Linked DNA regions of Homo sapiens: regions 2, 3, 4, 5, 6 and 7 are each linked to region 1. The links are contacts of gene promoters, found by promoter capture Hi-C in blood cells and fetal thymus (Javierre and others, 2016). All regions are on one chromosome and are shown on one strand. The core of a region is centred on a gene start or on the middle of the fragment in contact, and the rest is flanking DNA. Distances in the headings are between cores, read along the strand shown.

Region 1 (3,730 bases), core at 554-3,053:
TTAGCATTTACCTCCTTTACTTAAATCTATTTAACACAAAGAGTTGGAACACACATTGTAAAAAAAGAGAAAAAGCACTCCAAAATTCAAATTAAGAGTCATTTCTAGCACAGAAAACCATCACTGGTGATAAGCTCACCACACATGTATGATGCATTTGTGTATGTTTGCCCAAAGAAGATGATGAAGTACTGACATTCTTCGAGTGAGTGGACTCAGTTGTCATTCCTCTCAACTTTTTATACTTCTTGTCTTGTGAATACGTTTTTCTTTCATTTATGAGAGAGAAACATCCTCAACAAGTGATCAAAGTCTTAGTTGGTTTTTAAAAATTCAAAATTCTTGCCTTCATTTCAAATATTTTTCAGGCTTACTTACTCATCAGCCTATTATGACAAAGAGAAATCATGTTCACATCTTCTTTTATCAGCTTCATGTGTACAAACATAAAAATGGAATATCTTCAGTCACCTAGATACTTCTCGTCCGATCATGAAGTAACCGCCAACGGGGAAAGAAAATTCCCCTTTCAGCAACAGTGAGGTCTCTCTTCTGCTCTTTTTTCATGACACTTTTCTGGGGATGGGGGACAAAATAAAAATTCTCTGAGGCTTCAGGTATGCTGAGAATGAATATAAACTGATGACTTAAACATTCTGCAATCACTTAATAGAAATTTTAGAATCACAGTAAAATCTCATATTATCTGCAACCTAAGCTAGGGCAAGTGATTTTTTTCTTATCCATTTACACGCACTTATTTGGAAACCAGTGACCGTCAGCAGAAGACAAGCAACTAACAATACAAAATATACAAGATAGAACTCTCCCGACAATATCTATAGTTTAACGCCACTAACGTGGCTTCAGTCACTTAAAAAATGTTTGTATTCAAATGCAGTTTACACAAAGATGAGTCCTGCTATCCTTGTTATTTCTTGTTCCCAAGGACCGAGGGACAAAAAACTGAAAGTTGAAAAGATCTTTTTTTTTTTTTTTTTTTTTAATTCCGGGGGAAGGTTTAGAGTTCATGGGATCAGAAGGTATCTTCCTAATGAGAACTACTCGGACCAGTCACTTTTCTCGGCGGGGTAACCGCGAATCGTGACCAGGCGCCAAGCCGAGGGGCGGGAGCTCCGCGCTCGGCGCTCACCTGTGGCCGAGTCCCTGTCCTCAGGTGGAGCCGCCAGAGGGAGCTCGGACCCCGGTGTCGAAAGACGCCTCTCCGTGCCCGTCCGCGGCTGGAAGAACCTAAGCAAGTTTCAGTCTTGGACAAGTCTCCCCTCTGTAGGAAACATTCAGGCTAGGAGTTTCCTGATCCGCCCCGCCTGTTGCATTTTTTCACTGGCGTCCTCCGACCCTGCCGCCCCCATTCTCCGCTCCCCGCTCTGGGGCTGAGTGAGGCAGGATGGCGAGAGACCCCTGAGCCACCAAGTCCGCTTACCTCAGGCAGATCCCGACGGGGGCTCGGCGCCGCACTGGGCCCCAAGGGAGACGGAGGTGGAGAGTTCCAGAAAACTGCTCTGCACGGCGGGCCAGGCTCCCGCGGGGCTCCGCAAGACCCCCGCGTCGTCTCCCGCGCTACGGCAGGCGCTGCCCCAGCTCGGTCTCCTCAGCCGCGCTCGGTCCCCGCGACCCGCACGGCCCGGACACGCCCGCCCTCAGGAAACGCCGGACGCTTGTGGGGGCAACCACGGACCGCAGGACAGAGACCCGCGGGCGGCGGGTTCTCTCGGTGGCGCCGTATCCAGAGCAGCGCCCGCGTGCCCAGGCGGTGATGTCGCCGCGGCCGAGGATCCTCTGTGCCAGCTCCGGCCGCGCAGCCCGGGGAGGGTGAGACGGCGACGCGGGCCGGCAAGCGGGGGCGGGGCGGAGGCAGGACGGGGCGGGGTTGAAGGCGGGGCTGAAGGCGGGGCCTCAGGGAAGGCGAGAGACAGCGACGCTGGCTGGCGGGCGTGGGGCGGGACGGAGACAGGACAGGGCGGGGTCAGAGGCGGGGCTTCGGGGAGGACGGGAGGAGCCGTGAGCAGGCCGGCGGCGGGCGGGGCGGGGCCGAAAGCAGGTGAGGCGGGGCCAAGCGCCCCGGGTTTCTAAGCGGAGGAAGCTCTAGGCGTTTGTGTTCTGGGCTTGCAGCGGTGGCCGCGCGCTCCCGGAGGAGTCGAGCTGGAGGAGGGGACAGTTTGGGAGTGCGAGAGTCTAAAGACGCTGCCAGGCTGGCGTTAAAACCTTTTGGTTATGGGAAGACGACAACTATATAATAGAGCCATAGTGGGGGCTGTGGGATTGACTCAAATGATGGGAGGAGCTGGAGTGGGAGGGGATAAGCCCTGGGACGACAGAAATCATCCTTTTGGAAAGAGCAAGGGCTGGGGAAGGAGGGAATGAGCACTCCCTTGGAACTGAGAGGCAGCCTGGCTGAGCTTGCTGTCCTTTGGAAAAGCAAAACCGAAATACCCAGATTAATATAGGAGGACAACTTCTGTAGCCCAGATGCTAACAAAGATCAAGGGAAAACAGAAAAGACTAATCAGCTTTACTGATGGAAAACAATTTCTCAGGCAGTATAAATAGGGGAAGCATGGGACAAACAAGTAGAAGGAGCCTCTTATTTAAAAATGGGACCTGGTATTCGGTAAAGACCTACATGCAGACAGGAGAAGGCAGTGTGCCCCGGCTACTACGACATGTGAGTGCAGTGCCAGGTCGTGGAAATCCTAGAGCAGGCTGGGACTCCTGTTGCACTCCACACATGGAGCTTCTCACAGATAGCTGAGATGACACTTTGGCATAAACCAACCCAAGCTCTGACCTCAAATGTAAAAAATAATAGCTTAGTAGTAATAAAAATACAGGGAAATATCAAGCTTCACAAATGAACAATTCCATTCTCAGTTGGGGATTAGTAACACATTCAGTCTCTTCATTTCCCATACTATTTTGGTAATATTTAATAAGATATATTTTAACATTTTAAAAATAAATGTCTTGCTTAGATCATTTGCTGCTGAAAATCAAACAGTAGACGACTGCTAGCAGAATAAATTTCAAATCATTTAACTTTGAGGTGAAATGTGGCCTCTAACTCCTCATCACTCTTCTGTTTTGGCCCCGTAGTAACCCCTAGCCCAGTCCAAATAGCCACACTTGCTTTTGCTTGGGTGCTTCAGTAACTATGCTTATTCCATTCTTTCCCTCACAGTGTCCTTTACCCAACCACCCCACTTACTAGTTAAAATTCTTCTGACTGTTGAAATTATCTGATCATCCAGGTCTCAACTCAGATGCTTACATTCTTCTGTAAATAACTCCTAAGTTTCCCTAGCCAGAATGTATTACTCCAGAACTATATCATTTGTACCTATATTCGGCCGTTTAGGTTGTTTATTTTCTGCTTTCTATTTCAACTGGTTGACTCCTGTACCCTATTCAAAACTCCTTCAAGTCATGAGTAGCACTCAAGTCCCCTTTGTAAGTACTATATCTGCTTTTGAAATGAGTTGAACCTCGAACAATTGGGCTGATACAGAGCCTCGTCTCCTCCACTGAGGTTTATTCCCAAACAAGGATCCTCTTCTGACACAACTTCCTGTAAAATCTGGATTGTGCCTCTACATGGCCCCTGATAGAGGAAGAGGACCCATGGCCTCCAACCACATTTATGAGAGAGTAGAGTTGGGGGAAACGGGGAGCTGACTCCAGAGATTCCTATCTGTTTGCAGAGGGGAGCCTA
Region 2 (3,730 bases), core at 832-3,331, 2.7 Mb after region 1:
ACCCAAAGACCACATGTCCTGATGGATAGCATACCACAGTGGGCACTGCAGAACCAGTTACACCAACTCAGAAGTGTCTGTAGTTATCCAGGAAGGAAGGTGTTAATTACGGATTTGAAGTGTCAAGGTCAAAAAACACATGACAATACAGAAAAATAATAGAAATAACTTGTCAATGATGTTTCTGAGATGAACAATCTTAGGTGATGAGAGACTGTAGATGCAGTGGGGTAAGGGGCGATAATACTGTAGAAGAAATATAAAAAATCCATTGACTTAAAACAAGCATGTTACAAGTAAAATGGGGGTCAAACTATGAAAGGGTTTTACTTATGTTGCACCCAAGGTCAACATAAACATTTTATTTTATTTTCATTGTTGAGCATATATTGCTCCTGTAATTAGACAAAAATAATTAAATCCCATTCATTACATTCAAAGCAAATAATCTATCATTCTCCTATTAGACTATTGATTCAGCAATTTTTCCTAAAAAAAAATCAACCTTTGATTTATTAATTCTACTATTTAAAAACACACATATATATTCTAGTGTATTGACTGTATTATTTTTTACCAGTTACTTCACTCTGTCGCCCAGGCTGGAGTGCAGTGGTGTGATCTCCGCTCACTGCAACCTCTGCCTCCTGGGTTCAAGTGATTTTCCTGCCTCCACCTCCCACATAGCTGGGATCATAAGCATGAGCCACTATGCCCAGCTAATTTTTGTATGTTTAGTAGAGATGGGTTTTCGCCACAATGACCAGGTTGGTCTCGAACTCCTGACCTCAAATGATCCTCCTGCCTCGGCCTCCCAAAATGCTGGAATTACAGGCGTGAGCCACCGCACCTGGGCTACATCCTTCTTTAAGTGTGTTTTGCTGTTCTTTTTTTAACTTCTTAAGCTAAAGGTCTTGTTTACATTCTTTCTTTATTAGTTATAGAGAATTTTAAGTCCATGAATTTGCATGTAAAAAAAGTTTTAATCATGTATCATGAGTTTCAATTTGTAAGGTTTTGTTCTCAGCCAATCTGAAACTGCTGTTTTGATACTTTCTGTTTCACCCAAGATCCATGTAGGAAGATGGTCTTTAATCACCAAGTCTTTCTTACATACACTTTAGTTATTAATTTCGACTTTTATTATATCAGAGTCAGCAACAATTACAAAAGGTCAGGGCCTTTTGTAATTTGAATGTTAAAGTCAAAGATTTTAGGTGAACTTGAAAAAAATGGGCAATAGATGTCTGCGTGGATGTATAGAAAACTACATAATTTTCTTCTTGTATTTACAGTGGTTTTTGTTGTATTTATTTAAATGCTATGTATAAAAACTTATGTTGAATTTTACACGATGATAAATGATGGTCACTCAACTGGTGATATATACATGGATTGGGAAGGGGTCATGGGTAGAGCTATTATATGTTGAGATTTGCTATGATCACAAGCCACAGGACATTAAGGACACATGAACCCAAAGGCGGAGGTCAAATTCTACTATCTAATTATCTACTGATTCTGCTATTTCCACTTGAATCTGATTCATCTTCAACCTCTTGGTCATACCTGTAAAATCACTGGCAGTCATTGCCTCAGTGTGCTGAATCAGATCACTCAGATTAGATGAGATATTTATACCCAAAGTCACAGGAAATAGTTACTCTCCTAAGAACTCATATTACTATCTGTAGGAATTGATTCTAGGGGGAAATGAAATGCTTTTTTTCCTCTTGGAAAAGACATACATTTTTGCTCTTCCTCACACTTTGGACATGAGTTTTCATATTTGGGGTTATACATGGTGGGTCTGTCAGTTGTGATCATGTGCATTTTATACCCTTTCTTTCTGTTAATATTTGATGAAATCTGGTTCATATCAGTATAAGCTAAAATATTGTATAGAGCACAAGCTTTGGAGGTAGACAGACATGGATTTAAAAGCAGTGTTTTGGCTTCCCTAATCACACAACTGTGGGCAAGCTGATTAACTTTCTCGATTGCAAATAACAAAGCTGTAAGTCAGGCAAGTAAGCAAAAATGGGTTATCTAATATCTCACTCTAGAAGTGGATCTAGCCTCAGAGACTCAAAAGAATACCAGTGTTTTTTATTCATCTCTCGGCTTTGATTTTCTCAGTGTGTTGTATGTTTCTCTTCTATTACAGGCAGAATTTCCTCAAAATGTAGAGGAGGAGAAGATTGTGGTCCAGACTTCCATCTTCCCATATAATGACTCCAGAAGAAAAAGAAAGCTTCTCTCTGAGCATCCAGATATAAAATCTATGATAAGAACCCTAATCAGGATTACCAGTAGGAGATTACCTGATCCTAGGTTATTTGTTCACACTCTCTGAACAGCAGGGCAGGATATTATAATTATTAAAATTAGAGTTACAGAAAGTGGGGCAGAAGACTTCCACTTAAAAAGGTATGTTATTCACAGAAAATGAGGGAAAAGAATCTTGCACAGAGGGAAGAAAAAAAATGATATCTCTATACTCACTAAGCCTCAGCTTCCACAAGTAAAAATTAAGATTAATAATAATACCTACTAATAGGACTGCCTGGGGGCCAAAGAAGATGATTTAGAGAAAGGATTTGTTCCAAGACCTCCCATAATAAGTAGTTACTACAAATAATAGCTCTGTTTTAACACCTGTCAAACTTGGAGGTACCTCCCTTTCCAGGAATCGAATGCAATGTCAAACCATGTTCAAGTACTGTCTGTGAGTGTAACTGCAAGGTAGACGCTGCCTTCATCAAAGGGATCTTATGCCCCAGAAACAACTTTGCTACGTAAGTGATGGAGGCTTGCAGAGTGGAGGTGCCCACAACCTTACTGCATTTATTTGTGCAGCCATATCGAAAACATTTCCAGCAACAGAAAAAGGGGGAAGGAAGCACTCTGATACTTTTTTTCTTATTCTTCGGAGGGGACACATTATTGGCCCAAGAGGGAAATCCTTTTACAACCTACTTTTACATTAACTGGGATCATAATTTATTTATGAAAACATCATATAAAAAGAGCAAGCAAGCAGGATTCCTAAACAAAGGGGGCTCAAACCAATATATGTGTAGAAGTTATTCATTGTCCCCAGGGCAGGCATACGTTTTCGTGTGTCTTTCAGGAAAGTCACTGGCACCCCAGCCTTCCTTCTTTCAGAATAAAGGTCATGATTTATTAATAATTCTGATCTCTAGGAAGGAAAAATGACCCCAGGTTTCATCCCTCACTTACGAATTTTCCTAATCATGCCCCATAACTTTGTCCTATGAATTCACATATTTAATTTTGAAGGGCATCATCAAATTCTAATTTATTCTCTCAATACCAAAATAGAAAGTTAATACATATTTTATGCCATTTTAAAGTGGAAGGATTGAAACAAGGTGTATTCACTTTCCATTTCAATTAGAGCAACGTGATTTGAGCCCTGCTTTCTTTTCACAATTTAATAAATAGTTGTCTTAATTATGAAAGGACAGACGCAGATAAAGTTGTCTACTTTCACCACATCCATTCAGCACTGTACTGGAAGTGTTATCCAGGGTAACTAAACAAGAAAAAGAAATAAAAGGCATCCAGATTAGAAAAAAAAGAAAATTTATATATGTAATTGACATCACCTTATATATAGAAAATCCTGACTGGGCGTGGTGGCTCATGCCTATAATCCCAGCACTTTGGGAGGCCAAGGCGGGTGGATCACCTGAGCTCAGGAGTT
Region 3 (3,730 bases), core at 575-3,074, 2.7 Mb after region 1:
CTATAAGCTACAATAATTAAGTCAGTTGGGTATTGGCATCATAAGAGAAAACCGATCAAATAGATTCCAGAAGTAAACCCACATATAGTTAGTTGGTAAGGAATTCAGGAAAGAAAGGACAGTCATTTGAACAAATAGTGCTGAGAAAATAATTGTATACCCATAAAAAAAAAAGTTCATTCCTTACCTTGTGCTAGATACAAAAATCAACTCAAAATTAATCAAAGATATAAAACCTAAAACATATGTAATAATTCTAAAAGAAAGCATAGGAAACACTCTTTGTATTCCAAGTTAGGCAAAGATTTCTTAGATAAAATATCAAAAGCATGATCCATAAAAGAAAAACTAAGAAACTGAACCTCATCAAAATTAAGTTTTTCTGCTCTTCAAAAAGCTAAATGATCATCTCAATAGAGACAAAAGATTTGGCAAAATACAATAATCATTCATGATCAAAACTTTCAACAAACTAAGAATACATGGAACTTCCTCAACTTTATAAAGGCATCTACAAAATACAAATGTACTAGAGCTAATCTTGTATTTAATGGTGAAAGATCGAATGCTTCCCTCTAAATCATGAAGAAGGCTCTCACCACATCCATCCAACATTATACTAAGGCTTCTAGCCAGGGCAATTAGGCAATTTAAAAAAATTAAAGGTATCCAGAGTGAATAGAAAGAAATAAAACTGTCTTTATTCACAGATAAGATGATCTTAAAACTGTTTTTATTCACAGATAACAAGATTTTATAGATAGAAAATCCTAAGGGATCTACCAGAAAACAAAACAAAACAAAAAAAACTACCAGAACTAGTAAGTTCAGCAAGGCCACCAAATAGACGATCAATACACAAAAATCAATTGTATTTCTATATACTAACAATGAGCAATCCAAAAACTTTTAAAATTTTCATTCACAATGGCATTGAAAAGAATACTTAAGAATAAGTGTTTTTTTAAAAAAAAACCTAGACTTGCTCTCTAAAAATTACAAAAGATGCTCATAATCATCAGTCACTAGGGAAATGCAAATTAAAACCCACTAAGATACCATTGCACATCTATCAGAATGCCCTCTCCCCCCCAAAAAAAAAAAAAAAACTGAACATAATAGATGTTGAAGATGTGGAACAACTGGAATGTCCATAGGAATGTTATTTGTAATAACTAGAAACAACCCCATTGTCCACCAACAGGTGAATGGATAAACAAATTGTGGTATGTCCACACAATGTAATACTACTCAGAAATAAAATGAATAAACTACAGTAAGCCTTCACTTAACTTGGTCAACAGGTTCTTGGAAACTGACTTTAATGAAACAGCATTACAAGTTCCATGCCATTTCACTAAATGCTGATGAGAAAAAATAACTGGGTTTGTTATAAGTCAGTTTGCTTAAAGTCACAGTTTCCGAAAACCTATCTATGATGCCAAGTGAGGAACTGCTGTACTACTACATAAACAACATGGCTCAGCCGGGCGCGGTGGCTCGCACCTGTAATTCTAGCACTTTCGGAGACCAAGGCAGGCAGATCACTTGAGGCCATTCTACCATAAAGACACATACATGTGTATGTTCACTGCTGCACTATTCACAATAGCAAAGACATGGAATCAACCTAAATGCCTATCAATGGGAGACTGATTAAGGAAAATGTGGTACATACACACCAATGAATACTATGCAGCCATAAAAATGCATGAGATCATATCCTTTGCGGCAACATGGATGGAGCTGGAGGCCATTATCCTATGCAAACTAATCCAGAAACAGAAAACCAAATACACATATTCTCACTTATAAGTGGGAGCTAAACAATGAGAACACATGGACCCAAAGAGGGGAATAACAGACACCAGGGATTACTCGACGGCAGAGAGTGGGAGGAGGACCACAAAAATTACCTATCGGGTACTAGGCTTATTACCTGGGTGACAAAATAATCTGTACACCAAACCCCCATGACACAGTTTACCTACATAACAAACCTGCACACGTACCGCTGAAGCTAAATAAAAGTTTTTTAGAAAAACAGCATGCCCACTTAAATAAATCTACCCTAGAGACATACCTGCACATTTATGAAATAGCATAAGCCCATTATTCTTTGTACATAATTTATATTAACAATAATATCCATCAAGAGACTAGGTTAACAAATACACAACGAAGCATTTGCTACCTATAAAAAAGAACGAGAAAATCTCACGTATAGATAGATAGGGAATAATCCTCATACCTACTATTCTATGCACATAAGACGTATTTTTAAGTTATAAAAACAGGGTGCAAAACAGTGTCTATAATATACCACCTTTTATGCAGGATGGGGAGAGGATAAGAATCTACATACTTAGTTGCTTACATTTGCAAAAATAAAATAAAAATAGAAAAAAATAGCCAGAAAATAAAAATGACTACCAATAAGGAAAACATCTTAAAGGTAACTGGATGGGAGAGAGGCATCTCTGAGCTACATTTTTATGAAGAAAAAACAATTCCCAATAGTGAAAACAAACAAAAAAAAATCTAACTGTATGCTGAATGGGTAACGGTAGCTTTAAGGCACAGTATTTTGACTGTATATCCTTAGTGAGATTAGTCTATCTCAAAAAGAACTGCCAGGAAATCTTGAACTTTTCATTAGAATTGTTCATAGCAATGTTAATATTGCTGTTCTGAAACTATCTTATGTATGTTTAAGGTCAAAGCTAATAAGCAATTATGCTGATATTGCTAGGAACGAAGACTTTCTACAAGCGCAAGGATAAGAAATACAAATTTAAAATAAGAAAAATAGCAATAAACTCACGATCTTTAAAAATACGTATTTCCTAATTGTTCCTGAAAGAAAAGAATGATATCACAGTAGCTATAACCACCTCTAATGGCCTGGTTTTGGTCTTAATATACGTTCCACTATTAGAAGTAACCAGAACCTTTGGAAAAATAGGCCTGTTCCAGGCTATTTATAACATAAGCCTGGGACATATTGAGTCAAAAAGAAAAAAGATTTTGAACACGAATGAGACAATGAAACCGGCTTAAAAGAACCAAAATCTTAAAAAATACTATTCCCTATATCCCAAAGAAAACATTGATTCTTACCATATCTATACCAAAAAGGCTGCTGTCATCCCAGATATCTGTTGAAATTGCTTCACCAATAAGTGTCATATCCTCTGTAAGCAATTCCAGAACTCTTATTATCACTTGTCTGCTACCTAGGAATACAAACAGAAAAAAGTAAAGGAGAAGAAGTTACTTAACTTTAAAATAATCAGCTGAATATCATATTGCTCAATTTTCTAGTTAGTCATGCTCCAACATTTTCTCTTTTTTTCTAATGTTCTTAGAACTGTAGAGAAATCACAATTTACAATCACACTGAAGGCTTCTGTTCCAGTCACAGTACTACTTTACTACATAACAAATCAAATACATTTATAATTGGAAAAGATATTGAAAGTAGCAATAATCTAACAAGTACTGTGAGATAGATTAAAATAATTTTTCGAATTTAGGGACCATCCATTTTACACGTAATATGTGACAAAGCACCAGAAAGGTTTAGAAAACGTATTCCAATAATTTCTACTTAGTACTAGAAGGCGTGAGCCTTCTCATAAATTAGTATTTTCCCACACAGGAGTTGCCTGGGAAGCTAAGCTTGGACTGGAGCAACTAAAGGAATAAATGAACATGCTAACATTTGCTA
Region 4 (3,730 bases), core at 612-3,111, 2.6 Mb after region 1:
ATGAACAGCTACATACGGTTCTGTATTACAACATAATGTCCCAGGAACTTTAATATACTCTGCCTTTATACTTATTTCAATAATTAAAAATTCATTGGTAGTACATCACCAAGTATATCCATGTACATGGGTCACTAGTTTAACAATGGGAGTAGAGATTATTTGTATTTGAGCCAAAAACAACATGTTTTAAAATGTAGTCTCCGGATAACAGGTACCAAAACTACTACACTATTAATATAACTATTAATCCTGCATATTCCCTCCAGTTTTGTCTCCTGGTTTTATTACAACATGGAAAGTAGATAAGCAGCCATTATCAGAAGGCAATGTTAAAGAAATTACGAGCAAATTACAAGCCTGGGATTTACAATGACTGGTAGGGTTACCCTGGGTTTGTAAAGTTTGGAGAGGTAAGCCTTCCAAGAGTTAAATGCTACCTGGGCCTTGACAACCACCTGGATTCATGCTTCGGGTCATGTGCGGAAACTTGCCCTTGCTACGGTTCAGCTTGTTTCACTAACTCCTCTAAGAGTATAGTCTAATTAAAACTTAAAAATAAACCTTAGATTTATACAGGATTTTGAGGAGTGAGGTGTAGCAATATGATAAATATATCCCTATAAGGTGAAAATATATGGATAGGTAAAAGGACAGAAACAGCACATCTTATATCCCCAATAAGTGTACTTTTGTATCTTCCAAATTACCTAAAACTGCAGCAACATGGATGGAGGTGGAGGCCATTATCTAAGTGAACTAACTCAAAAATAGAAAATCAAATATTGCGTGTTCTCACGTATAAGTGGGAGCTAACCAATGAATACACATGGACATAAAGACAGACATAACAGACACTGAGACTCCCAAGGAGGGAGTGGGGGAGGCGGCTGAGGTTATAAATTACCTAACTGGGTACAATGTTCAATATTTGGGTAATGAGTACACGAGAACCCCAATCCCCACCACCATTACGCAATATACTTATGTAACAAACATGTACATATATCCCATGAAGCTAGAATTTTTTTAATGTAAGCTATAAAAATGTTAGGTAACCATTTACTGATGTGATATTCAGAACATGAAAAAGAAAGTTAACCCAACAGAAAACAAAGCAAGATACACTATAACCCGCACTGTGCACTAACCTAGAAAAGGAAAAAAAGATGTTAACATCAACACATATTTAACTATCTACAAATTTGTTTATTATTACTAAATTAGAGAAGTAATACAGCAAAGTGGGTAAGAGACTGCCTAGACTCAAAGCAAAGGCGTACCACTGACTAGCTGTGTGATTTAGGACAAACTATTTAAACTCTCTATGCAAAAGTTCCTAAGCTTAGAAAATAAGGATAGTAACAGTTCACAACTCAAACAATTATACAAGTTACTATGTCTTACATTTCTAGAAGGGTGCCTAAAACATAGTAAACATATGTTAACTATTATTATTTGCTTTAAATTATTGTGAACACTATAGAGAAGAATTTTTAAGTCTGGTCGGCATAAGAACAAATTCTACGTTCTATTTTAAGAGGCCCTTGCTGTCTTGTATATAGTTTCATCAATAATGAAATATACTACTTATACTGAAAATTTATCACCAATTAATTTGAAACATCTACTAGGTTGATAATTGTTTAAAATCACCCACCTGCCAAGTATAATCCTTTATAATTTCTGTAGGCATTGGAATTACAAGGAGATTCTGAAGAATAAATGCCGCCTGAAAATGTAAAAAAAAAAAAAAAAAAAAAAAAAAAAAAAAAAAAAAAGGTCAATACTGCCATCTTGTGGTCATCTCTGAAATAACCAATATATTGTAATTAATAGCAAAAGACATCTCTGGTCAACTGCACATGCTGAGAGGTCATTATGAGAATTGTCAAACTGTATTTCTTGTTAGGTGATGACCTTCTTAGGTAATGACCTTGTTAGGTAATGACCTAACAGCATATGAAATTATTTCATCAGGAAATATATCTTTTCCTATTTCAGAATTCAGCTTTATTAAAAAATGATTTGTATAACATAAATTCTTCTGGTAGCATTTAAGAAATATAATTTTAGGTTTCTACTATCCCCTTTCAGATTACACACACACACACACACAAACACACGCACCCCTCTGCCCCGCTTTCTCCCTTCTCTTATACAGACTCCTTTCAATAAAAACTTGCTAACTAGAAATACAAACCACAAATGTCCAACTTGACTAGATCCTGAAGATGATCAAATTAAATAATCATACAAATAGGAGCATTGATTGTCTGCTTAATGAAAGATGAAATAACCATAATGGGAGAATGACAGGATTAACAAGAGGATTCTAAGAAACTGACATTTCCAACCATGATAACTAGAAGTGATGGAAAAGCTTTAAAGTTGATAAATCAAGAAGCAGCCATAAATATAAACATCACTACTTAAAAACATGAAGGCAAACAGCAACAAAACTAGCCTTTTGAGCTTGGAACTGGCGACTGCTAATGGTGGACCCAGGAGCTGCTGTTTTTTTTCATAAGCCTCTAAGTACAATTTGATTATTGTTTTAAAACCATTTACATGAATCATTACTTTAACAAAAGCAGCAATAAAAAAAAACCACAAGCTATTCAGAAAGAATTAAAATAGGGTTTATTTTTCCCTCTCATGTTATATGATAAATACTACAAAGAGTTATTTTGACAGCCTCTTATCTATACTAAAGCTTCATAAATATCAGAGACCCATAAATGCTGAGATAATATAAAAGTAATTTTTCCTGTGAACTACCTTTCAATGCATAATAAAAAAAGTTCACATTAAAATATAGTATATTCCGATTTTATCTTATCGGAAGGAAGGACTCCAGTTTTTCCTGTGCATGAATACCTTTTAAATCCTCTACTGTCATTTTGTTTGGGTGTTCACAGACAGAAGAGATCATGGTCAGTGGTCAGTCCACCATGTTGAGCGGCAGTCAAGTATCGCTTACGGATACCATCACAAAGAATTTCTAAGGAAAAAAAGGAGAAAAGACAGACATACCTCCCGGCGCACCATACTACATTCTGACTGGTCCAGAAGAATGTTCACCACAGTTCCCCAGAGCCCACCGGAAATGTTCTGACAACTGTTTGCTAAGGCCACACAGCCCGTTTCAAGGGTGGTCAGTGCTGATCCTAATCCCAGTGAAGTGAATCTCACCTGTTCAAATTAAAGAGAAAGTTGTTGAATCAAATAAGCCTTTTTCCTAACATGAATTCTTAGTTTTTCTGGTACATAAATATCACACTTTAAAAAAATCCATTGGTTTTATGATCCTAAATTATAAGAGACACCTATAGAAGACAGTGTCCTCCATTCCATGATTCAAGAAAGCAGTAATATAGGAAAAATTAAATATAAGCAAATTTCAAAGCAAAGTAAAACTGGGTATAAAAAGATGCATAAAAATTATAGTTTGCAAGCCTTTTTCTAAGGAAAGCATAGGGCACTTACATTTTATGAACACAATTTCAATTCTTCATTCTTAAAAAAGGTAGCTATTCTTTGTTCTACCTTTCTTAATTTTTTATTGTTTCTTCCAAATAAATGATTTTAACTTTCTTAAAACTTCTAAACAAAGAGGCAATTATCATTTTACAAGGCATTTCGTATTTTCCTCAAAAGTTATTCAAGAGAAAAACGTTCCCAAATAAGATTGATGTGGTATAATATGCTTGCTGTAGAACCACTGCTG
Region 5 (3,730 bases), core at 376-2,875, 2.4 Mb after region 1:
ACCAATGAATGAGGCCACCCCATCTTGCTGTTGGCCACGTATTAATTGATTTCATTTGATCCCCCAACCACCCCGGTCCAAAGATGCCAAGTACATTCTAAGAATACAGTACATTAGCATAGTACAGTCTAAGCATAGAGTCCACAGACACACTCTGTCACAACTTTGTGATAACAGCTGGAAATCAATAATGCAAAAGATCATGATAGTCGAGGTTGTCAGATAAATGATTTAAGATATTTTTAAAAATCATTATGTGCTTATTAAACAAATGCCAAAACATATCTATTTTCTGAGGGAGGGGTCAGGGTTGGGTAAAGTGGGGTAGAGGTGCAGGTAGAGAGGTAGAAGGGCTGAGGGCCAAGCAGGCATCTGCAACACCGTGCTGCCTCAAATCCTAAAGGAAATGAGATGAAACCTAGCATCATCCACTCTCGGTGGTTTCTATGATCAGGCCCAAAGTGAACTTCCTCACCCAGGATAAAGAAATGAGGTTCATGGGAGGAGGACTGGAAAAGGGGTACTAACTGGTAATAACTTGTAGGAACTCCTTATTCCCAAGGCATCCAGAGCCAACTAGTCAAGAGATGAAGAGAACTTGTGTATTTGCACCCTGGAATTGAGGGTCCTAGAGGTCACAGATTCGAATGAAAGGGGCAGAAAGACTTGCAGCTGAAGACAAAGTCCAGCTGTTACGACTTTGCTAGAGATGAGCCCTATTTATCAACATCTAACCAAAGACAAATAGAGACAGCGCTTGAGCTATTTTTGTTGTGTCAGCAGCCATTTTTTGCATGATTTATGAAGGGATTTTGGCTTGAGGTTTTTTTTCTAATAGAGCTGTCTGTATAAAAGAGCTTTGTCCTCAAGGAAGTCATTAATCAAAATATTACTGGATTTCTCTACTATTAAAAATGTCTCAGCTAACCACATGAGCATGAATTCATCTCACAAGCTTGCCTCTGAATGCAGACTCCTAGGTGGCCTGGGTGGGTGGGGACGGGGAACACTCTTCAGCCACACTGTTCTTCTTCCTGTAGGCTGTCCACCCAGGTAGAACCTTCCCTGTCACCTCAGTTTCATTGTTTCTGCTACCTACAATATGTCCTGCTTCCCCAGATGTCTCTATGGTTTCTGAGCATTGGGAGGAGTCTCCTAGTGTCTACTCAATGACCCCACCTTCCCCAGTTTATGCAAAAACACCTGATGTGTGTGATGGAGAATCTGCTCTGATACCTTTCGACACTTGCTTGGAAAACTATTCACATGCTGGAAAGCAGAGGACTGTGAACAGAAAATCTAGCTAAACTCAGAACAAGTGACTGGGGCTGGGAAGATTATAGTGTGAGAGGTCGTTTGCTCCCTCCACTCCTTCTCAGATGCGAGGGTTTGCCTGCCTTCTGCTGGGATGCCCCAGCTGTTAAGAGGCTCATACTTCCAGTAAGATTTCCACAGGAGGCCGGGTGCGGTGGCTCACGCCTGTAATCCCAAAGTGAAGGCCGAGGCGGGCGGATCATGAGGTCAGGAGATCGAGACCATCGTGGCTAACACGGTGAAACCACGTCTCTGCTAAAAATACAAAAAATTAGCCGGGTGTGGTAGCGGGCACCTGTAGTCCCAGCTACTCAGGAGGCTGAGGCAGGAGAATGGCGTGAACCCAGGAGGCAGAGCTTGCAGTGAGCCGACATCGCACCACTGCACTCCAGCCTGGGCAAAGGAGCGAGACTCCATCTCAAAAAAAAAAAAAAAAAAAAAATTTCCTCAGGAACACAATAGTCTGGGTTTCTGCTCCCTTCCTCAAATAATCTCATTAAGAGAACCTTTCCAATGTGGGCCACATGGTCTCCTCTAGACCACGATACCCTTAGAACCTTGGCAAGTCATACACATGTCCCCAGGAGTGAGGCTACTGCTGAGTGACCAGTAGAACCCCACTTCCAGTCAACGCAAAGACTCCAGTTGGGGTTCAGCAGGGATCCTCTAAGACAGGGTTCTGAAACTATGGCCTGAGGGCTGGGCGCAGCCCACTGATTTCCATAAACAGTTTGGTTGGAGACAGCCATGCTCACTTGGTTACATACCATCCACCGCTGTTTTTGTGCTGCAATGCTGGAACCAAGAGGTGTTAGGTCACAACTGACAGACACCACACGGCCCACAAAGCTGTAAATATTAACTATCTGGCCCTTTACAGAAAAAGTTTCCCAACCCTTGAGTAGGATAATAAATCTTTGGATCATGGACATTTATTATTTAAGTTCATCCTTGTTCAGTCTTGCTGGAGAGAAGGAAGATTTAAGCTTGACAGACCAGATGCCGGTAAAATTAGCTCAGTTTTCTTATTCTCAAGAACTTTACGATCAGATCTATTATAAATACAATTCTAGAGACAGACTGAGAAAAAGTACTTAACTGGCACCCTTTTACTACAAACTGCACCCCTCATTAAACTAACAGTTCACAGAACACCGAGCACTTAACTTACTCCAGCTTTTTCCGGCAACTCTCTTGTCCTGCTGCATCAACTTGCCATGGTTTCACTGGCAGCCCCCACCCTTTCGCACACGATTCATTTAAAAAGTTGAGCTCAGACACATCCAGTCTTTTTTCTGAGAAGGTTACTAACCTTGAGATGTGAGTGCTGCTCGCTCTAACGCTTCTTCCCATCTGCGTCTTGGTTAAGGACTTTTATCGTATCCTGTTTATCGTGGCCTCCTAGCCTCAACACCCTCTTGGTCACTGCAAGCTCCCCGCTGCTCCCTCCCTTAATTAGCACTGCAGGAGCTGAGGGGAGCGTTCAGCCCACTCAGGAGCTGACTCTGCCCATGCTCTTGAGCTCTTCTCTCTACCAGAACTTCCTCAGATAGCAACTGAAGTGAATCACTAATATTTCATGAAGCGGGGTTTTTTGAAGTCAAGTTTACCTGCTTCTGGAAGCAACTTTACTATTGCAGCTACTCAGACTCATTCCAAACTCAGATAAAGTTCTGTCCCTCTTTTCCCCCAAAGAATCTATAATTTGAAAGGACGCACTTCTCCTTTGTTCTAGCTCTAAATAGAAACTACACTCCCCGCCGAAATCAGTTTGTTTCTTTGCCTTTTCTTCCTCGTGTTTTTTCCTGCCAATCAAAGCACATTAGATTCAGCCCTCTTTTTAAGTCAAGAGGCTTCCTTATCTCTGCCCATATCTAAGTATGTTTCGGTCTTACTTTCTAGATACTCTTTTTTTTTTCTTTGTCTCCCATTCTCCGACAGAAAAAGTACACAAGTCGGTGTTTCCTGAGAACGAACCCTGCATGTTTAGCAGCTTTTGTCTCTTAGAAACACTAGGTTTTTTGCTGCACCAGGCCATGGCAACGTTAGTTTTATTGATTCCTTTGATTTATTAGGTTATGGAGGTTCCCTGCTGGTTAAACCACCATGAAGGATTGTGGCTGAGGCTTTAGTGTGTAAAATTCATAGAAAGACTAGGAAGGAAGGACGTTTGACAGGTGAGAAGGCACTCATGGGGCTGCCCTACCCTGCACATTTAATTATGCATCGCAGGTACAGGACTGGTCTCTTCTGCTGGACCACCGCATATACGAAAGCAAGGGAGAAGAAAGTGCAATACTGCCTCTCAAGACACAAGTGTTTACTAAGACTTATTGTGGGCCAGAGGTAGCCAGAGTAGCCTTCTCAAACACCTGCCTGACTCTCGTCACTCCCTTCAATGCCTCACTGTCCCCAA
Region 6 (3,730 bases), core at 356-2,855, 2.4 Mb after region 1:
GATGCAACATCAGTCTGTTTCTGCATCCACATCTGAAAAAGACTGAGAGAAAAAAAGGCTCCTGTCTGGCAAACTGGCAACCGCATTCTCAAACACCTGCTGAAATGCACTCAACGCAGCCCTGCTTCAGCCATATCAACCTAGCACTGTCTTGTATTGCTGGGGTATGTGGGGATTCTAACACCTTATCACCACCATCAAAAATATTCATGTAATTGGGAAGATAGGAGTTCTACAGCTGAAACCTGAAGGCTGGTAATACCATATGTTTTTCAGCCCTTTACGAATTTCTTTTTTAAGCTTCAGGATGGTGGCAGATAAGAAAATTGGAAAGATTTTTATTGCTGTATCTGATTGATGGATTCACAAGATAAAGAAACCCTCAATACTAGAATAATGGCCAACTCACCTAAATTCAGCCATTTAAAAAAATGCTGAATATGCGCATTAAATGAACATGTTTACCATAAATAAAAACAGAGACCAGCCCACGGGGCTGGCTTTTTCCATGTTTGATACCAGAAGATGTCTGGTGCTCACTCACCCTCGGCTACAGTCAATCTCATCACGAAGGTTTCGTTTTCTCCTGCGCTGGCCTGCAAGTAGCAGCGGTAAAGCCCCGAGTCTGAGACTGTGACATCGGGGATGACGATGACGCTCCACCTTCCGTGGCTGCAGTTGCTCACTATTTGTCTTGGGAACTTGGAGGTGAAATTTCTGCCATGGACCAAGTTGCAGTAAGTTAAGAGGTCGATCTGACGGGGCTGGATCTTTTCCCACCTCACTGCCTGCACAGGCCACGTCATCTGAGGCTGACAAGTGAGTGTGACATTCTTTCCAGGTTCCGAAACAATGTGGCTATTTGATGGCACAGCTGCCTCAAAACTATCTGAAAAGAAGAAGCAAATGATTAGATACAGGTTGTCAAATTTTGGGACACCCAACTGGAAGATACTTAATCATAAAAATAATTGGTGATGTTACCTAACACAGTTCTTCCGTTGTGAATGACCTCTTTATACTACTTTTTTTTTTTTTTTCCTGAGACGGAGTCTTGCTCTGTCACCCAGACTAGAGTGCAGTGGTGTGATCTCGGCTCAATGCAACCTCCACCTCCCAGGTTCACGCCATTCTCCTGCCTCAGCCTCCTGAGTAGCTGGGACTATAGGCGCCCGCCACCGCGCCCGGCTAATTTTTTGTATTTTTAGTAGAGACGGGCTTTCACCGTGTTAGCCAGGATGGTCTCAATCTCCTGACCTTGTGATCCGCCCACCTCGGCCTCCCAAAGTGCTGGGATTACAGGCATGAGCCACCGCACCCAGTTGTGAATGACACATTCTTGTAAGAGAAAGGGTTTTTTTTGTTTTTTGTTTTTTGTTTTTAAGTCCGGGAGATAAATAGAAAAGAGGATATGATTGTTCACACATAGTTCCATAAGTGTTACTTGGTTAACCATGTAGTGAGAAACACAGCCAAAACCCCTGGTGCTTTTCTTGGTATCATATCAAGAGGCTGAATTTTACAAAGAGACTGTTAGGCAATAATGCTGGGCTGGTGTCTCTGACACTGACCTACAGTATCAAATGTTCAGGTTATAATCATTCTGGCTAAGATTCTGACAGTTATGAAAAAGATACCAAATCATTCTCACTGAATATACACATGATCTCATTCTTCAGATATACAGGGTTGTCTTACACATGGGTAGAGTAGGGCCCCACATGTGGTATCAATTCTTGATACCATGAAAGTCCAGTATTCTCCCACCTTCCTCACACCATTTCTGGAATTCCTACCATAAAGTACTCAGTAATTGTCACTAAATATCTAAGTCCATGGTCCTTAGAGTGTGTTTGGGGGCCCTGGGCATCTCTGTGTCCCTTTAGGGGATATGCCAGTTCAAATCTATTTTCCTAGTGATATTGAGAGGAAATTCCCCCTCTTCACTCCAGTTCTCTCACAGGTATACAGTAGATATTTCCAGAGGCTCTGCCAGCTAGTGGTATGCATGCTTGAAAATTCTTGTGTTTTAAATTTTGCTCAATATTGATTTCTAATACAGTAAACATGACAGATATAGCGTACATAAACAAACACTCCCTGAGGGCCTTCAGTAATTTTTAAAATAGCATAAAGGGGTCTTGAGACCAAAAAGTTTGGGAACCCGATCTAAAGAATAAACTGTGGTAACTCTTTCTTAAAATTAAGATAACCCAGCAAGGTAACAAGTGGATCTATTTATTAGTGATGAACACCTTCTTTCTTCTGATGGCATCACTAATGCCAACAAATCCTGACCTGCTATTTCAGTAGAGTGAGGCCTGGGCAGTAATGATGTCACAAAACTCTCTGGCACTAAGGGAGAAATGCAAAAAGTGGGAAGTCATCTGTCACTTCAACTATGTGACAGTTTCACTCAGGACTGGCCCAGGAGCCATTGTCTTGGCATACAAACAAAAGAAAAAAGAAATAGAGAAAGAGAGAAAGGAAGGAGGGAAGGAGAAAAAGAAGAGAGAAAAAGAAAAAAGGAGGGAGGAAGAAAAAAGGAAGGAAAGGAGACAGAGAAACAAAAGAGATGTCACATTTCGAAAGAGAGAATGAAAGCAAGTCTAAAGTGCAGTAAGATTTGCCATCTATTGAACTAGAATATCATGGCTACGATAGTTTCAGCCGCACCAAAAACTAGCTTCTCATCTTCAGCATGCGGTTCCATGTGTCAAAATGTTGTAAAAAGAAAACCACAGCACTCCAGCTTTCTCCTCTGTACAACCGTTTACCAAAGGTAGCACTTTACCCACATAACACACACCCGGAAAACATTTCGTCTCTAAGTAATAAAGCAACACAAGAAAAGGGGAAGAAAGAAAAGCAAAGGAAGAAAATTCATTAAAAAAGGGAAAAAAGGAAATAAAAGCTTAAAAGAAACAAAAGGAAAATTAAAATAAAAATTAAAACAGGGAAAGGAAGACGTGAGAAAAGAAGGAAATGCGTGACAACATAAAATCAGATGCTAGCACACCATGTGGAGAAATGAAAGAACATAAAAGAAATGAAAAAAAGGAGGAGAAATCGACTTTCATGTGAGCCCTTCTGGTCCCTGGGAAGTAAGAGGCAGCGTGAATGCGTGTCCTCAGTGCTCACACGCACAACTGTTTTGTGTTTTTCTTCTTCTTCTCTCTGGATGCCGCCCCGTCCAATCTCAGGAGTTTCCTTTGTCTGCCTATCTAACCAAAACCATGCTGTCAGGCCCCCGTGAACCTGCCGACTCAGGTAGAAACAGGGGTCTACTCATAGCCGTGTCTGCATTTTCACAAAGGACAATGCAGGAAGCAATGGGGAAAATCCTAGAGGGGATGCAGCTGTCTTTGGGGAGCAAAGTGCAGGGAGGTTACAGCAGAGGCTCCATGTGAGGACCTAGACCCGCCTCTCAATAGACTCAGCCTGGAGGTGAAAGAAGTGGTTCCCAACCCTAGAGCCAGGTGGTTCAGAAGCTCAGAGTAGCCCCTGATTAACCTTTCCTGACAAACAGAGTAACTGATTGGTGTTAGATGAAAATCAAGACCTATTACGAGGTCGGCCAAACCTGCCTTGCCTCAGATATTGCTTGTGGCTTCTCAGACCACAGGCTCTTCCTGCAAAGCTCAGTGGAAGGCAGCTCAAAATGACCTTGAAAAGAACTGCCAGAAAGAGCCCACACAAACAAGAGAACCGTGGGATCCTGATGAACTTG
Region 7 (3,730 bases), core at 346-2,845, 2.3 Mb after region 1:
CAATAATTCACTGCATTTCAACAACTAATGAAGACATTCAAAACATACCTCTCATAAATGCAGGCATGATATGGGACAAGTTTCCATTATAATTAATTTGATAAAACATTCTCATTGTATTGAACTTCTGTTGGAAATCATATTCTTGACTGAGATGCAACAGAAATCTAGTCTAGATTAATACTTGCTGTATTGTGCTATGAATTACCTGTTTCAATGTAGAACTCCCTCTCCCAATGTTAAGCTATTTTGATAAGAACAATTACTATCATTTTTATATGGAAATTCTAACACAGTGTCTGAACTTTAAAAAATAAGCAACTTAACATATAAAAAGTTAACAAAACTGACATCAAGATGATATTGTATAATCATTAATCTTCTCTACCGTAATCAAGTCACTTTGACCACATATGTATGTATGTAACAGAAAATATGCAGGTGTGAAAAAAGAAAGACAAATTAAGAGACAAAAGAAACTAGAGAAAGGTCTTTTGATGAGTAATTTAAAAATTTAGATTGACCTTAGTGTTGTTGGTTTTTTTGAGTCAGAGTCTCGCTCTGTTGCCCAAGCTGGAGTGCAGTGGCGCAATCTAGGCTCACTGCAACCCCCACCTCCCAGGTTCAAGCAATTCTGCCTCAGCCTCACGAGTAGCTGGGATTACAGGCAAGCACCATCACGCCCAGCTAATTTTTGTATTTTTAGTAGAGATGGAGTTTCGCCATGTTGGCCAGGCTGGTCTCAAACTCCTGACCTCAGACGATCCGCCCACCTCAGCCTCCCAAAGTGTTGGGATTACAAGCGTGAGCCACCATGACCAGCCAGATGTTAGTGTTTTTAAGAAGAAAGCAAAATGAAAATTCAAGTGCCATGATTACTTATAGAGGTTATCTTTTAAAAAAGAGAATGAAGTAGTTCTAATGTCTTTTTTTGACAGTCCAACCTATTAACTCTTTAATAATCCTTCAAAATATTATTCTACAAAAACCTGAAAAAGTTGGATACCTAATATAGACCGTTGCAAAGCTCCCTTTCATTCCCCAAATTCACAACAATAAATGTGACTAGACTGGCATGAGTAGACAAAGGCTAAGGATGAAGAAGGGAATCCCAAAATTGTGTATGACAGAGCACCAATTTATTTCTTGCTGAAGTGGCTGATGAAATAAAGCAAGGTTTCTTGATTCTACAGTTGGCATCAAGAAGCAATCCATGTTTTTTGCCAACAAACAAAAAAAATATTTTTTGCAAAAGTAACTACTTAATAAATAAAAAGTTAAACTGATAAATTATGAAGGCATCTGATGAACACATGTTGGATTGTCAGAACCTTTTTAGTACTTGGCTTGTGGCCATGTAGAATTCCACTGCGAATAGTTAAAATGAAAAGAAATTTATATACTTTTGGCTAGGAATTGGGGAATTTTTTGTCTTAGTTTGGGCTGCTGTAACAAAATACTGTAGACTGGGTTGCTTAAACCACAAACACTTATTCCTCACAGTTCTGGAGGCTGGGAAGTCCAAGATTAAGAAAATATTTTCCTAACTTGAGAAAAAAAAAAGAGTCCAGTGAGGGCCTGCGGGCCTGTTTCTTGGTTTGCAGACAACTGTCTTCTCAGTATCCTCACATTGCAAAGAGCAGAAAGAGGAAGCAAGCTCTTCTGTCCTTAAAAAGGCACTGATCCCATTCACGAAGACGCCACCCTCATGATCTAATTACATCCCAAAGTCTCCACCTCCTAATATCATCGCATTAGGCATTAGGATTTCAACATATGAATGTTGGGAAGACATAAATGTTCAATCCATAGCAACTTTTTTTGTGAAATTTCATAAACAGGATGCTATGCATTAAAGGAAGAGATTTGAAGTATAGTGGGGATAACGAGCATGAAAATACATATCCCTCTTATCTGCAAACCCAGAAGGAAGTTTCTAGTCTTTTAGTTAAACACTAAGGGGCAGCAGCAAGGCAGAATAAGGAAGAAACTTTTACAGCTCATCAAACTCCTGCAGCCCATAAGGAAATAAAAAAGTTCTTTGGTTGTATAAGTATACACTAATAACTTACCTCCAAAGATAATAATAATAATGAATATCATTACGTTCTTCTATGTGCTTGCTACGCTTCTGGTTCTTTTATGCAATTTAACCATCACAATAACCTTATGACATAAAAATATTATGTCCTCTCCTGGGTTGGATACTGTCCCCTGCAAATTCATGTCCTCCTCAGAACCTCATAATGTGACCTCATTTGAAAATAGGATCCTTGTAATTAGCTAAGCTCAAACAACGCTGTGCTGGAGAGGGGTGGGCCTTTAAGTCCAAGATAACTGGGGTCTCCATAAGAAAAGAAGGAAGGCAGACACACACACACAGCTGAGAACAGTGATGAGAGGGGCAGAGATTGGAGCGATGTGTCTACCAGCCAAGGATCGACAGCTCCACTAGAAGCTGGATAGAAGCATGGGATGGATTCTCATCCCACGAAGAAACCAGTACTTCTGACACTGTTTCTTGTACTTCAACCCTCCAGAATTATGGAAGAATAGATTTCTGTTGTTTTAAGCCACCCCGTTTTGGTAATTTGTCACAGCAGCCCTAGAAAAGGAACAAAGATTTAGGGAAGGCATAGTGTTGATTGTTATTACGCCAGGGTAATTGCTCCTTTATTTATATTCATATAAAAAACTTAGTTTCAAAGGGTATTAAAAATAGAATAGTTCAGAAAATAACTTTCTCCAAATAGCTGATATTTAAATTACAGGCAACTGCATGGTCAGGTTACTGAAAGGACAATAAAATATAAGATTGCTAACTGCAAAAGAGACTGACTTTGCATCTGTAAATTACAAAAGAAAAAAATGACAGTTCCGTATAAACTTACCTTCTGTGTATCCCAGGACTCTGTAAATAGATCTCTTCTCTCTCTCCTTCTCCTTCTGGAATGCATATTCAATAAAGGATATAAAGATATGATATTCCAGTACTAATATTATTTCGAAGACTCTATACCTCACTGTACCCCTAGCCCACATGCACCTTCTAATATGTTGAAGTAGCTTTATGCACATTTATCCAAAATTCTGTTACCCTACAGTTTTTTTCATTTTCCCTGTCTTCTCCAAATTGCTCCCAGATGGTGAGGGCAACTAAATGGATATCTAACCACTGTGCATTAGTAATTAATCTCAGTGATTTTACTAAAGAATGATTTATAGTGACTTATTACATAAATGACTTATAGCTTTCTCCAAATAACCTCACATTTAAGACATTTTCCACAATTAAAATTTATTTTAAATGCCAGCAGTGTAACTTCTTGGATGACAATATAATGAAGCTTTATAAAATCTTTTGGGTGTTATTCTAAATCACTCGTATGGATTATTTTATTAAATCACTTATGTAGATTATTTTATTAAGATTTCATATAAACAGGTTTAGAAACTAAGGTGTGAAGAGGAAGAGTAACTTGTCCCAAATCACATGATCGGTTGGTGTAGTGCTGGAATTTAAATCCATCGCCCTCCCTCTTGACTATTAAGCTCTCCAACTTCTGGAATCACTTCGCCGTGACTGAAAGGACCATCTGCAACCACAGTATTCAATAAACGCTCCACAGTTCCAATGAAACCCATAAAAACCTAACCAGGGGAATCATAGAAGAGAAAATACCAGAGAAGAAGAAAAGAGGCTACTGTAACTGAATGCAAGAGCTGATAT

The links. The method cuts DNA at HindIII sites, captures the fragments that hold promoters and counts their contacts. A CHiCAGO score of 5 or more calls a contact.
Region 2: a fragment that was not itself captured here is called in contact with the fragment with the promoter of DSEL in region 1 in 6 of 17 cell types (activated CD4 T cells, total CD4 T cells, fetal thymus and 3 more); the score reaches 9.6 in activated CD4 T cells.
Region 3: a fragment that was not itself captured here is called in contact with the fragment with the promoter of DSEL in region 1 in 6 of 17 cell types (activated CD4 T cells, fetal thymus, naive CD4 T cells and 3 more); the score reaches 11.9 in activated CD4 T cells.
Region 4: a fragment that was not itself captured here is called in contact with the fragment with the promoter of DSEL in region 1 in 4 of 17 cell types (total B cells, total CD4 T cells, naive CD4 T cells and 1 more); the score reaches 7.9 in total B cells.
Region 5: a contact is called between a fragment that was not itself captured here and the fragment with the promoter of DSEL in region 1, in 1 of 17 cell types (total CD4 T cells). The highest score is 5.1, in total CD4 T cells.
Region 6: a contact is called between a fragment that was not itself captured here and the fragment with the promoter of DSEL in region 1, in 1 of 17 cell types (total CD4 T cells). The highest score is 6.1, in total CD4 T cells.
Region 7: a contact is called between a fragment that was not itself captured here and the fragment with the promoter of DSEL in region 1, in 1 of 17 cell types (total CD4 T cells). The highest score is 5.2, in total CD4 T cells.

Annotation. Positions count from the first base shown.
Region 1 is chr18:67,514,917-67,518,646 of GRCh38, forward strand. It overlaps DSEL (dermatan sulfate epimerase like), which reads right to left and starts at 1,804. Exons shown (of 2, transcript NM_032160.3): 1 at 1,445-1,804; 2 at 1-576. It overlaps DSEL-AS1 (DSEL antisense RNA 1), which reads left to right and starts at 1,630. Exons shown (of 5, transcript NR_033921.1): 1 at 1,630-1,833. The HindIII fragment of the contact is 6,208 bases long and covers 1-2,862 here.
Region 2 is chr18:70,207,526-70,211,255 of GRCh38, forward strand. It overlaps LOC105372180 (a long non-coding RNA gene), which reads left to right. Exons shown (of 3, transcript XR_935599.3): 3 at 2,168-3,459. LOC124904321 (a long non-coding RNA gene) reads right to left here. Exons shown (of 2, transcript XR_007066411.1): 2 at 2,828-3,559. Among named protein-coding and RNA genes, the nearest start is that of RTTN, 3.7 kb to the left of the region's middle. The HindIII fragment of the contact is 341 bases long and covers 1,912-2,252 here.
Region 3 is chr18:70,184,988-70,188,717 of GRCh38, forward strand. It overlaps RTTN (rotatin), which reads right to left. Exons shown (of 49, transcript NM_173630.4): 10 at 3,121-3,236. Among named protein-coding and RNA genes, the nearest start is that of RTTN, 19 kb to the right of the region's middle. The HindIII fragment of the contact is 3,709 bases long and covers 1-3,679 here.
Region 4 is chr18:70,084,953-70,088,682 of GRCh38, forward strand. RTTN (rotatin) reads right to left here. Exons shown (of 49, transcript NM_173630.4): 31 at 3,037-3,195; 32 at 1,661-1,732. Among named protein-coding and RNA genes, the nearest start is that of RTTN, 120 kb to the right of the region's middle. The HindIII fragment of the contact is 1,039 bases long and covers 1,343-2,381 here.
Region 5 is chr18:69,954,129-69,957,858 of GRCh38, forward strand. It overlaps a transcript of CD226 not described here. Among named protein-coding and RNA genes, the nearest start is that of CD226, 8.1 kb to the left of the region's middle. The HindIII fragment of the contact is 1,345 bases long and covers 954-2,298 here.
Region 6 is chr18:69,895,157-69,898,886 of GRCh38, forward strand. CD226 (CD226 molecule) reads right to left here. Exons shown (of 6, transcript NM_001303618.2): 3 at 545-889. Among named protein-coding and RNA genes, the nearest start is that of CD226, 51 kb to the right of the region's middle. The HindIII fragment of the contact is 2,614 bases long and covers 299-2,912 here.
Region 7 is chr18:69,864,466-69,868,195 of GRCh38, forward strand. CD226 (CD226 molecule) reads right to left here. Exons shown (of 6, transcript NM_001303618.2): 5 at 2,892-2,946. Among named protein-coding and RNA genes, the nearest start is that of CD226, 82 kb to the right of the region's middle. RefSeq lists an enhancer at 361-430. The HindIII fragment of the contact is 3,500 bases long and covers 1-3,345 here.